Regions from separate parts of the Homo sapiens genome. Here region 2 is linked to region 1. The links are contacts of gene promoters, found by promoter capture Hi-C in blood cells and fetal thymus (Javierre and others, 2016). All regions are on one chromosome and are shown on one strand. The core of a region is centred on a gene start or on the middle of the fragment in contact, and the rest is flanking DNA. Distances in the headings are between cores, read along the strand shown.

Region 1 (5,618 bases), core at 2,832-5,331:
CTCCTGGGTCAAAACTTCCTTCACCACCGTCAAGAAGGCCACCCTTTGTCGGCGGGTTAAATGCAGTGTTATTTACATATGGTTTATCTGGGCATCTATAATCCCAGGGCGAGAGCCCACCATCCACCAGCATTTTGGAAGAACGCCTGAGACCTGAGACCTGAGACCTGGTGCAATGGAATCAGATTCCCTGGTAGCTGCTTTTAATGGTGACAGATTCTCTGAAACAGAAAAAGATTGAATTGAGTCTGTCTCCCTGGAGTCGTCCTGCTCTGGGAGATGCAGAGGGAGGGCGGCAGGAGGGAGGACAGTGGGAGGCCTCTGTTGGTCAATTGCTAGGCTGCTGTCACCAGATGGTGGATGGCGTTTGTACAGCACTGGCCAAGGGCCCAGCTCAGCAGGGCCAGAGCCTCAGGTCATGTCGCAGGTGAGCAAAGCAGCGTGGATGGAAGACGAAGATCTTCGTCCCACGGAGGGCTTGCTGTGCGCCCCGCAGGACGCAGATCACCGGGAAGAGCAGGAAGCAGAAGCGCAGGAAAGCCAATGCTGTGACTGAGGCGTGGCCAGCAAGCCAGGCCCTCCAGCCACACCCTGCTCCAAAGGGGCTCCGACAGGATGGACTGATGATTTCCAAGAGAGAACATGCTTTTTATCTTCTATGGAATTTTGCTACCAAAGAGCCTCCCAGCTACCTGTGCCCTTCCCTAACCTGACAATCTTAATTCCCCCATGAAACTCCTCCATCGCGGACATTTGGACAACTCCAGGCTGAGTTTTTCCTAAGGCCACTCTGGCCTTGTGCGTCTCTTCTTTGCTAAGCTGTGTGCCAGCCGCCAGCCCACATCTGGGTTGTACCATGATCCTAACTCCTCACCTGAACACAGCATTTAACAGACTGAAACGTGCCACTCTGGAGCTGGGGACTTCAAGCCACATTTCGCCTGCAGCCCGATCGCCTTCAATCTTTAGCAAAATCCTCTTTCTCATGCAAAACAGTGCAGTCGTAACTTTTAAAATATTTTTTAGAAACTTTCTCTAGAGCCTCCACCACATGGCCACAGCCTGAGACTTTGAAATAATGAAACAATTAAATGATGTTTTCATCATTTCTGAGACTTGCCCATTATCACGAAGCTGAAATGGCCATTTTTTTATAAGTCAAGGAAGGACAGGCAGTTTCAAATGAGTTGGCTAAGACATACGCCAAATTCATAGAAAATAGAAATGAACTATGACTACAGAATGGAAGCAACCACAGAAATATTAGCAGGATTTTAAGTATTATCCCAATCAAGTACTAATAGCTAAGTGAGGTCATTTTTTGGATACCATTCCTGGTCAAAGCTAGGAATGATGTGTGTTCCAGGCTGGACCCTCCAGGCAGAGGCACCGGGATCCCACGCTGTTTCTGGGTTGGCCATTAACCTGCCCCTTGACCTGACAGCGTTTCTCTCTCTTCTCTCTCTACACTTCTCTTCTGATCTTTAGATCGATTTTCCTCCAAGTGACAATGTCCATAAAGAGAGAGGGAGGTGGAAATACAGGCTGTCACATTTCAGCTCTTTGAGGTGCCTCTAAAGATGATGTCAGAGAACAGTAAGTGGCCCACAAATGTGCAGCATCTGTTCCGAGCCTCCTGAAGCCGCCCGGACAGGCAGCAGTACGACCCTGCAAGGCCACAGGGGAGCCAGGGGGTTCTCGCTTTCTTTTTCTTTTAATTATTTCCTCTCAAAAAAGAAAAAAAAAAAAGAAAAGAAAGAAAAAAAGCCCTGCTGGGATAGAACTTATTGAGTTCAGAATGTTCCAGGGCACATAATCAGGCTGCCCTTGTTCCAAGACACTGCTGTGCTCTGTAGCTGACCCCCGAGTCCTCTAGGGCAAGAGTAAGGACACAGTCGGCTCCCGAAAGCTGGTGCAGATGGACCCCACCACGCAGGGCCTGGAGTTGGGCCAGACCTGCAGACCCCCTTGATGGCCTGCGGCAGGACCCTTCACCTGGGTCAAGGCCTCCTGGTGCTCCTAGGGGCCTCTTGAGGAGCCTGGGCACCAGCATTTGCCTTTGAGGACAGGACTGAGGGCCTGCATTTTGCACGAATGTACCTGAAATGTTTGCTCTGGATTTACCTTTCCAATGGTGCCTATGCAGGAATCCCAAAGAATGCCTGGTGGGGTCTGAGGCGGGTCTCAGGCCGGGAGCCCTCCACAGGCAGCAATATTTGGCTAGAATTTAATGCCATTTTGTTTCTTTTTATCTATTTTTATGGTGACCTCTTTGTGGTAATTGACACTGACTTTTTAAAAAATAAACTTACCCTTTTAATCAAATGTGTGAATTGTTTAAAGGAAAAACATTGTGTAAATAATGTTTTCAGGGGGTAGAATCCAGACGTGAGTTTTGGAAACAGAGTCCAGTCCTGCTTCTGACATTTGAATTGCTTCTCCAGCATCATCACCAGAAGATGGGCTACCTGTGCTCACAAGCCTCCTGTAACACGGAGCTCACCACCTCTCAAAGGCACCTTCTGTCAGGTCTGCCTGGAAATGCTGCTCCCGCAGACTCCGCACCTGAGGCCAGGTCTGCAGCGAAGCTCATCCACACCTGAGGCCAGGTCTGCAGCGAAGCTCAGCCCCCTTCCTTCACAGGAGAAATACTTCTGGGTGTGCACCTTCCACTCCTGGCAGGGCCGTGAGCCCCTGTGGCAGTGCCTCACCCTCTGGGAGGGACCCTCTCCATCTGGGAACAATGTGGGTACTTTTTTCTCTTAAAGGGCAGTGTCAGGAATGAAAGCAGATACCCAAAAGCAGTGGGTCTCGTGGCCTCGTGTCTGCTTCCAGAAGTGGAGGGCGGCCTGGGACGGCGGGAGCCCTGAGGACACCACCGGGGGGGTCCCGGGACCTGATACGAGTGGGCAGGAGCCCCAAGCCCTGGAGGAAGGAAAACCATTTCATAAATAACTGCATGGGGTTGTGGGCCTTTTCTCACAAGCCGCAGCACCTCCTTCGTCTCTCCACGGTGAACCCGCCCGCCACGCTATGCCACCAGGCCAGGTCCTGCAGCACCGCCTCCGTGGCTAGGACTTCCTCACCAGCCTGGGGCCGTGAGGTGGTCATTTCCCCCCTTACCTGACTTATCTCAGGATTCACACACACACACTTGACTTTCGGAAACTTCTTTTAAATTAATTTCACTGACACTAAAAGGGAAGCTTTGTGGAGTGTGATTGTGGTTACCTGTTAATACTTGGCAACAATTATGAGCCCTGATATGAGCCAACTTCTTCCGTCTTATCCCCTTTGAGGACGCTCTGTTATCGCCCCCATTTTGCAAACGAGGAAACTGAGGCTCGGAGGCCTGGAGCAATGTGTTCCAGGACAGACGGCAGGAAGCCGGGGTAGGAATTCCAACAGGGAGTTCCCTCTGTGGAAGGGAACGTGGCTGGCACCTCCCTGCCTTCCACCCTCAGAGCTAGTGTGAAAAAGAAGACGGGGTTATGGAAAAGGCAACGGGCTGGAGATTCCCCGGATTCCCAGGCTAGGGCGCCGGTCTCACTGTGCGCGCAGGTGGGGCGCGTGCCAGAACAGGGCCTGGGGGTCAGGCCGAGACCGGCGGGCACCTTCACCAGGGCCGCCCGTGGCGTTCCCCCAGCCCCTCTGCCGCGGGCCCCACGTGGCCCCGACCCTGCGGCAGCCTTTCGGAAGGGCGGAGCTGAAAAACGGCCGCTTGGCTCCACTCGGCCCCACAGCGCCCAGGAGCGAATCCCGAGTCCGTTCGGAACCGCCTCGCCGCGTGGCCTGGGGCGGCGTCGCCACCGCGCGTTCTCGGCCTCCCGGCTGCGGCAGCGATGCCGGTCCTTGGAGCTGGAGCGGGGAGTCCAGGAGGCGGCAGCGCTCCGGAGAGAGACGCCCTGGTCCCCCGCCGCGCGTTCCCGCCTCTGTGCCCTGGGGGGGAGGAGGGGGCGGTCGCCGCTGCCATTGGCCGTGGGGGGTGAGGCGGGCCCCGCGCAGGAAACCCCGCCCCTCCCTCTGCGGCGGGGGCGGCCCCAGCGGATGAATGAAGCGGCGCGTGGCTGCCGGGGAGGCCAGAGCGTGGAGCGCTGCGCGGCGCGGCGGCCGGGCCCTCGAGACGGGGACGGTGAGTGCGCGGGGAGCGGGGAGCTGGCGCGGGTGCACAGGGCCCGACCTGCTGGCGTAGGAGCGCGGCAGGTGCCGCCATCGTGGGCAGGGGCTGGAGCGCCGGGGGGATGCGCGCGGGGGCGGGAGGCCTGGGCACCGGCCGAGCGCCCCGAGCCTCTCCGCGGGGGAGGGCAGGACCGAGCGGAATCGGAGGCCAAATTCGCCGCTTCCCGCCGCCGGCTGCGCAGGTAGGAGCTCCCGAGTCGCCCGCAGGAGGACCGAGGCGAAGGGGCCCCACGCTGCAGCGGGTGCCGGGGGGAAGCGGGTGAGCAGGGGCTGCGGCCCTGGCAGGGACTGTCGGAGTGGCCGGGGCAGGTGACCTGGGCAGGTGGCCCGGAGCGCGCGCAGGCGCAGGCCCCACAGATCCAGCTGGGGACGAACGCGCCTCCGCGGAGCTCCAGAGTTGCGGAGTCACCCACCTGCGGCGGCCGCTGCTGCCGAGTCAAGGAGGAAACCTTCATGCACGGAAGTTTCTCGGGGGCGGCCGGGCTTTGTTCGCGCCAGAGGCGCTCGAGACATCTCCGGGAGGGGAGCGCGGGCGGAGCGCACAGGGCTAGTTTCCAGCAGCGGCGGCGCCCCTTTCCCTGCCCCACCACGCGACGTCCTGGCCGTGGCTTGGGGGGACCCGGGCGCCCTCCAGGTGCAGGCAGAGGGTCGGGTGCCCTCGCGTTGCTGTTGGGCTCCCCTGACCAGGGAGGATGGAAAGGAAGGAGCAGGCAGGCTTAGCTGCCCTAGACCGGCCCTAGACCGGGAACCTGGAAGCAGATCTGACTTCCACTTCCAAGGGAGAAACCGCCTCCCGCACTGGCGCCCCGAGGGGAGAGAGAAGCCCAGCTAGGTTTCCGCGTGGTCCGCGTGGTTGGTGAACCCTCAGGCTGGGGGGTGCCCCGCTTGGCGTGCAAGGCCCTCTTTGGAGCTGCCGTGGGACCTGGCTATGCGTCCTGTTTCTGTCTGGAGGCGGCTGGAACGCGGTAGTTTTCCACATCCATGCAACCAGCTTGTCAGCTGCTGCTCCTCAGCTGTGGTTTTTGGAACTTGGGTTACCTCCATCTAATCAGAAACTGGCTCTGCAGAGCCCGGTGTCAGCGACGTTTTCATTCCCAGCAGCGGGAGCAAATGGATCTCAGAGGACAGCTCCTTGGCCTTAGCCGGCTCCGCTTGTGAATCTGGTAATAATGACAAGGACAGTGACAGCAGGGGTTAGGTGTTGAGTGCTGGAATGTGCCGGGCATGGTACCCCTGCTTTGAGCATCGTCTCATTCAGTCCCTAGCAACCCCACGAGGTGGCCATTATCACTCCCACTTTATAGATGAGTAAACTGAGGCACCAAGAGGTTAAGTGATTGACTCTAGGCCACACAGCTTGTAAGTGCTGAAGAGGTCTGACTCCAGGTTTGTCTGATCCAGGCTTGGGCTCCTGTTTTACGACTCTGTTCTTAAAGAGG
Region 2 (5,333 bases), core at 2,274-4,773, 360 kb after region 1:
CCCCATCTCTACAAAAAAATACAAAAATTAGCCAGGCGTGGTGGCGCACATCTGTAGTCCCACCTACTAGGGAGGCTGAGGCAGAAGAATCGCTTAAATCCGGAAGGCAGAGGCTGCAGTGAGCCAAGCCAAGATGGTGCCACTGCACTCCAGCCTCCGTGATGGAGCGAGACTCTGTCTTAAAAAACAAAACAAAACAAAACAACACAGTGAGCGTCTTGAAAAGCTCAGCTGGAAGCAAAGCTCTTTCGTGTTTGGTTCCTCCCTGAGTGTTGGGGGAAGGGTGGCTCCTGGTGGGTGGTGACGGTGAAGTTCTTTCCCGGTGATCCCCAGCCATTCTCAACACACCTGCAGGAGCACAGCCGTCAGAGAAAAGACGAGCAGCCCCCCACGTTTCTCGGGAGCCACGGGCTTGCACAGGCACCCACGTGGGTTCTGCTTTGCTGTTTGCCAGATGTGGGCACACAGGCCGTGGAGGGCTGTCTTGGAATGAGAAGATCCTTGGGCAAATCTGAGAAAGGCCAGATGACACTGTGATTGCCCAGGTGGCTTCGCGAGCAGCCACTGCAGAGAAGGCGAGCTAATTCTCCGAAACACTCCACTCCACTCAGGCCAAGTGAGAAGCATGCAGACGTTTGTAGAACAGTAGACACACAGCTTTGTCATGTACAAAAAAGTTTAAATGTAACTTGAATTTTTATTTAAATTAAGTAATCGGAAGAATTTTTGATTAGTGAAGTGGTTTTTTCAAAAACTTATTCTCCACCCAAAGAGAGAAAGAGAGATTTTTTTCCTCTGCCCTTTTCCTTATGATTTCACACATGTGCTATAATAAGTGGTTGCTTTTAGATGAGTTTTAGCATCTCAGAGACTCTTCAGACTCTGGTTTCGAGTGGACACAAGTATCTGAAAATTGAAATTATTGTGAATTCAGCTACAAATGAACACTATTTCACTTGATATTAAAATTTAACCATATTATTTTTATAAAATAAATGGCAATAAAATGCTTTATTCTGAATATAAATGATGTACCAATGTCTCTGATTTTAACCAGAATAAACACCCCTGTTTCAAATTCTGATAAGCAGGTAATTTATTTAAGATCACGTTGAAATGACCCTAGAAGTGAAGGGCATTTGAGTTTCCAGCTTTCCCACTTTATCTAAAAGGGGAAAAACGGTGTCTGGCACTCAGCTTTTCGAATGTGCAAAACTGATAAACTAGTCTGTTAGGGGAAAAAAAAAAGACAATGAAGAAATAAAAGTGGAAATTAGCAGAAACCAGTATTAGGCATATGTCTTTATGAATAAGACTTAACCATACACTTGATTTTGCAAGTACAGAAGGCCCTGTGGAATGTATTAATCAGAGTTAAACGCTGTAGACAGGCGCGTTGCAGGGCGGCGGCCCTCTCCCCTTGGCATTACCGACAGCCGAGGAAATTGGGTTAATAAAGCCGGATACTGCGGCGGGGCCGCGGGGCGCAAACCGGCGCGGACAGATGGGTCCCCGGGGGCACCCTGCCCGGCTCCCTGGATCCCGGATGGTGGCAGAGCTGGGAGCTGCGCAGGACGGGCACTGCGCAGCGCATCTCCGTTCACACCCGGCGGGGCACGGGGCCCGCAGCAGCTTACTCACCCGTAGCCCGGCCTCCTCCCTCGGAAGGGAGAGGGGATCGGTGGGGAGGGGGTTTGCTGGACACCAGGGCTAGACGGGGCCCTCCCCTGACCGTCAGGGTTAAGTAGGGCGCGGGCTGTGAGGACCCTCCTCCACGCAGCCCCCCGAGGCAGAGGGCCCGCAAAGCGGTCTCCATCCAACTCCACCCCGCGGACGTCCCAGGCAGCGGATGGCGGCGGGGGGGGGAGGCCAGGGGACATTTAGGGGACAAATTCCTCAGACTTCGAGGCAGCCGGCGACGGCGTCCAATTCCCAAATAAATAGAACAAACTCCTACTTGGAAAAGGCCTTCCCCGGGGTCTTCCTGCGCCCGCGGTCCAGCTCCTCTGCAGACGGCCATCGTGGGCTCTCCGCAGGGCTGCGGAGTCTCGGAGTCACCGAGGTGGGAGGTGCCGGCCACGCGCGTCCTCAGGAACAGAGCACTGCCCTGCAGTTTAGCACGAAGGGCCGGCTGGAGCGGGAGCGCGAGGCCCACTGCAAGAGGATCAGGAGCCAGTAAGTCCGGCTTTTCTTCGTCTCCACCTTTCGTGCGCCCGGGGCCAGGACCGCCTGTCCGGAATCTGACCAGTGCCCGTCCTCGCCGTGGCCCTGGGACCCCGCGGTGGTCTTCTTTTGGGGACGAACGGCAGTGCCCGAAGGATGCTCTACCCACCCCCGTTCCTAGACTTGCTGGGTCCCGACAATACCCAGTGGGTGCCGCGAGTTCCCGGGCGCAGAGTCCAGCGTCCGGCTCTCGAGCTCAATCCCGCGCCCCGACGGCCTTGGCGCTTCCCGCTGCGCTAAACTGTCCACCGCGCACAGGCTGGAAGCGAAGTCGGGCCCCCTCCTCCTGGTCTGCAGGGTCCCTCCAGGCCTTTCCTGTCCGGGCAGAGAGACAGTCACAGGGGCGATCGGAGGACGCGTGCGGGAGGGCCGGGGGCCCGCGCGGTCACGGCTTCTCGTGACAGTGTTTGCAAAGCGCGGAGGGCGTCCCGGAGAAGGCGGCGCACTTGTCAGGGCAGGGCCCCAGGGCGGCGCCTGCGGAGAAGGGGCACACAGTGGCCTGGCCGAAGGGCGTCAAGGGCGCGGCGTTTACGGGCGCGGCCAGGCCCTGGCCCTGGTTGAGGAAGGCCACCAGGCGCCGCATCTCGTCCAGGGCCTGCGCCTGCATGAGGATATAGTTCTTGGCGAGCAGCAGCGTGGCGATCTTGGAGAGCTTGCGCACCGACGGGCTGTGCGCGTAGGGGATGACGGCTCGCAGCCCGTCCAGCGCGTCGTTTAGGTCGTGCATGCGCCGCCGCTCGCGCGCGTTGATGCTGAGCCGCAGAGACCGCTGCTCTCGCGGCCGCCGCCGCCCGTCCGCCGCGCTCCCTGGCCCGCGCCGCCGCCGCCGCTGCTCGAAGGCGTCGTCCTCGTCCCCGCTCTGTTCGCCGCTGCTCTCCGCCGCCTGAGCTGGGGCGCGAGGTGCAGGCGCCGCGGGGAGGTCGCCGCCCGGGCCCGGAGTGCCGTAGCCGCGGGCCGCTTCGGGTTCTCGCGCCGCCCCGTAGGCGAGACCCGCAGCCGCCGCCGCGTAGCCGTGGCTTAGTGCCAGGTACGCGTCCCCCGACAGCGACTTGAGCTCGGCCATGGCCGCGCCGCCTGGGCTCGGGGGCTCGCCGGGTGGGCGGATGCTCATGTGGGTGAGCAGCCCCCGAGGCCGGCCCGAGCCCGCCGCTGCCGCTGCCGCTGCGATGAGGCTCCCGGCTCTGCGCGTCGGTCTGGCTTGCCTGCGGGTCCCAGAGCCTCGGCGCCCGCTGCCTCCTCCGCCTCTTCCTTCTCTCCCACCTCCTCTCCCTCCCAGCCGCGACGCGCAGGGGGCGGGCTCTACCTCCCCCTCGCCCCCGCTTCGGTTTTAAGCCGCGGAGGCGCCCGGTGGGACCTCGCTGCTGTCCAATCAGGGGGGACCGGGTGAGCTCCTCTTCCTGGAGCCGGGCTCCACCAGCGCCGCAGGCTCACAGGCCGGGGGTGGGGGCTCTGGACCGAGGGGCGGCGCGGGGCGGCGCGGGGCGGCGCGCGCGGTCCTGGAGCGCTAGTACTTGCTTCTCGACTCCCCGGCCGCCGCCTCCGGCCGCCCCGGGGATTCCGCCACCAAACGCACGCGTCCCAGGTGGGCACCCGCCTCGGTCCGTCTTTGAGTCTGACCCTAGCGCAAGAGTCCCTGGCGACACGCAGGGGCCAGAGCGGGGGGGCGCGCCGCAATAGCAGCAGCGCCAGCGCCAACACCCTGTCCCGCTGAGGGGCCGCTTCGGGTCGGGGTCAGGGTCGTGGGCGCTCTGGTGCAGCCGCGGCGCAGCGTGTACCCGGAGCCCGCACACTCCCTGCTCGGGGCGCCCTGTGGCCAGGCTTGAGGGGCAGAGTGAGAGGGAGTTTCTAGAACCTGTTGAAAAACGCCACGAGCGTTGCAGGCCGGGGAGGGCGGGAAGGTGGAGGGCAGCGCGGCCTGGGGCTCCCCGGGGGTGGGAGGGGAGCTCTGTGAGCTGCAGGACCGCCTCTTCCCTGCCAGCCGCTTCCTGGGCATCTATCAGCGAAACGCGTGAGGCTTGGTGGGCTTTCCCGGAGCCTCCGAACCCCTGGGGTCCAGCCACACTGGATGGGAATGTGGCCAGCCTCGGACTCGCCTTTTCAGTCCTCTTCCAACCCCGCATGAAGGCCAGAACCCCAGCCCTTCTCCCAGGTGGGAACCTGCCTGGAGGCCCGGCCGAGTGCTGAGGCTAGAGTGTGCTGAGGGATAGTGGCTTCTCCGGTCCTGGCTTGGGTGGGAGACTGGGCCACCCTGGCCTATGGCACGAGGTGGAGCGGCCCGTCGGGCCCTTCTGTGTGACCTGGGAAGGGCCGCATACCCTCCCTGTTCTCCAGGCTCCGCCCCAGGAGGAGCCACAGCGATGGGGCAGTGTGCGCAGCCCCGGGAGGGGAGTGGGAGCTGCACGTGTGTGGGGCGGATGTGCTGTCTGGAAGGTTCTGGGAACGCAGCAGTGACCGGCCTGTCCGGTGGTTCCCTGCCAGGTGCGGGGTGTGAGGAGACAGATGCATGGATAAGTCTCCGTGGGAAACTCAGGCCTTTGTCCTGGCGGAGGGGAATGGGTCTGAGGCAGCCTCTGCCGGGCTGGCGGCCTGTCTGGCTGCGCGTCCTGCAGCACCGGCCTCACCCCCAGCACACGCCCGCCAGGAGCGCAGGGGCCCCGAGGATGGAAGCGTCTGTCTGAGGCGCTGTCCTGGGACCCCACCCCGCCTTCGGGGCTGATGCACAGACCGGGAATTGAGGATACCTGGTGTGGAGGAGGCCGCTGTGTTTGGGCCTGGGTCTGAAGGGTGAGTGGGTGTCATTGTGGCCACGGGCCGGGGTCGGGGGAGCATTCAGGTGGCCGGAGGAGGCCTGGCACAGGGAAGGGCAGTGAGGGGCCCGGGTGGGGCCAGGAGATAGAGGGGCGGGACCAGGCCTGTGGGACAGTTTGAATCACGCGGGGAGTTTGGTCTTTATGGGAAGAAAGGCGCCGTGGCCATTCGGAGAGCCACTCTGGCACTGCTGCCGGTGCGGTCCGGGGCTGCGGGGCCTCCTCCTGGGCCTGAACTGCAGGGCTGGTGGGGGCCATGGGGGAAGGTGGCTCCACAGGTCCCCGGAGCTGGGGGAGCAGGAG

What was found. The method cuts DNA at HindIII sites, captures the fragments that hold promoters and counts their contacts. A CHiCAGO score of 5 or more calls a contact.
Region 2: a contact is called between the fragment with the promoter of BHLHE23 here and the fragment with the promoter of SLCO4A1 in region 1, in 2 of 17 cell types (neutrophils and non-activated CD4 T cells). The highest score is 6.1, in neutrophils.

What each region holds. Positions count from the first base shown.
Region 1 is chr20:62,638,422-62,644,039 of GRCh38, forward strand. SLCO4A1 (solute carrier organic anion transporter family member 4A1) reads left to right here and starts at 4,082. Exons shown (of 12, transcript NM_016354.4): 1 at 4,082-4,132. LOC124904949 (a long non-coding RNA gene) reads right to left here and starts at 3,916. Exons shown (of 2, transcript XR_007067711.1): 1 at 3,232-3,916; 2 at 1-2,925. RefSeq lists a silencer at 3,570-4,519. The HindIII fragment of the contact is 5,977 bases long and covers 3,205-5,618 here.
Region 2 is chr20:63,003,441-63,008,773 of GRCh38, forward strand. BHLHE23 (basic helix-loop-helix family member e23) reads right to left here and starts at 3,524. Exons shown (of 1, transcript NM_080606.4): 1 at 2,487-3,524. The coding sequence starts at 3,334. The coding sequence ends at 2,609. RefSeq lists enhancers at 405-918, 3,243-3,948, 3,949-4,656. The HindIII fragment of the contact is 10,733 bases long and covers 1-5,333 here.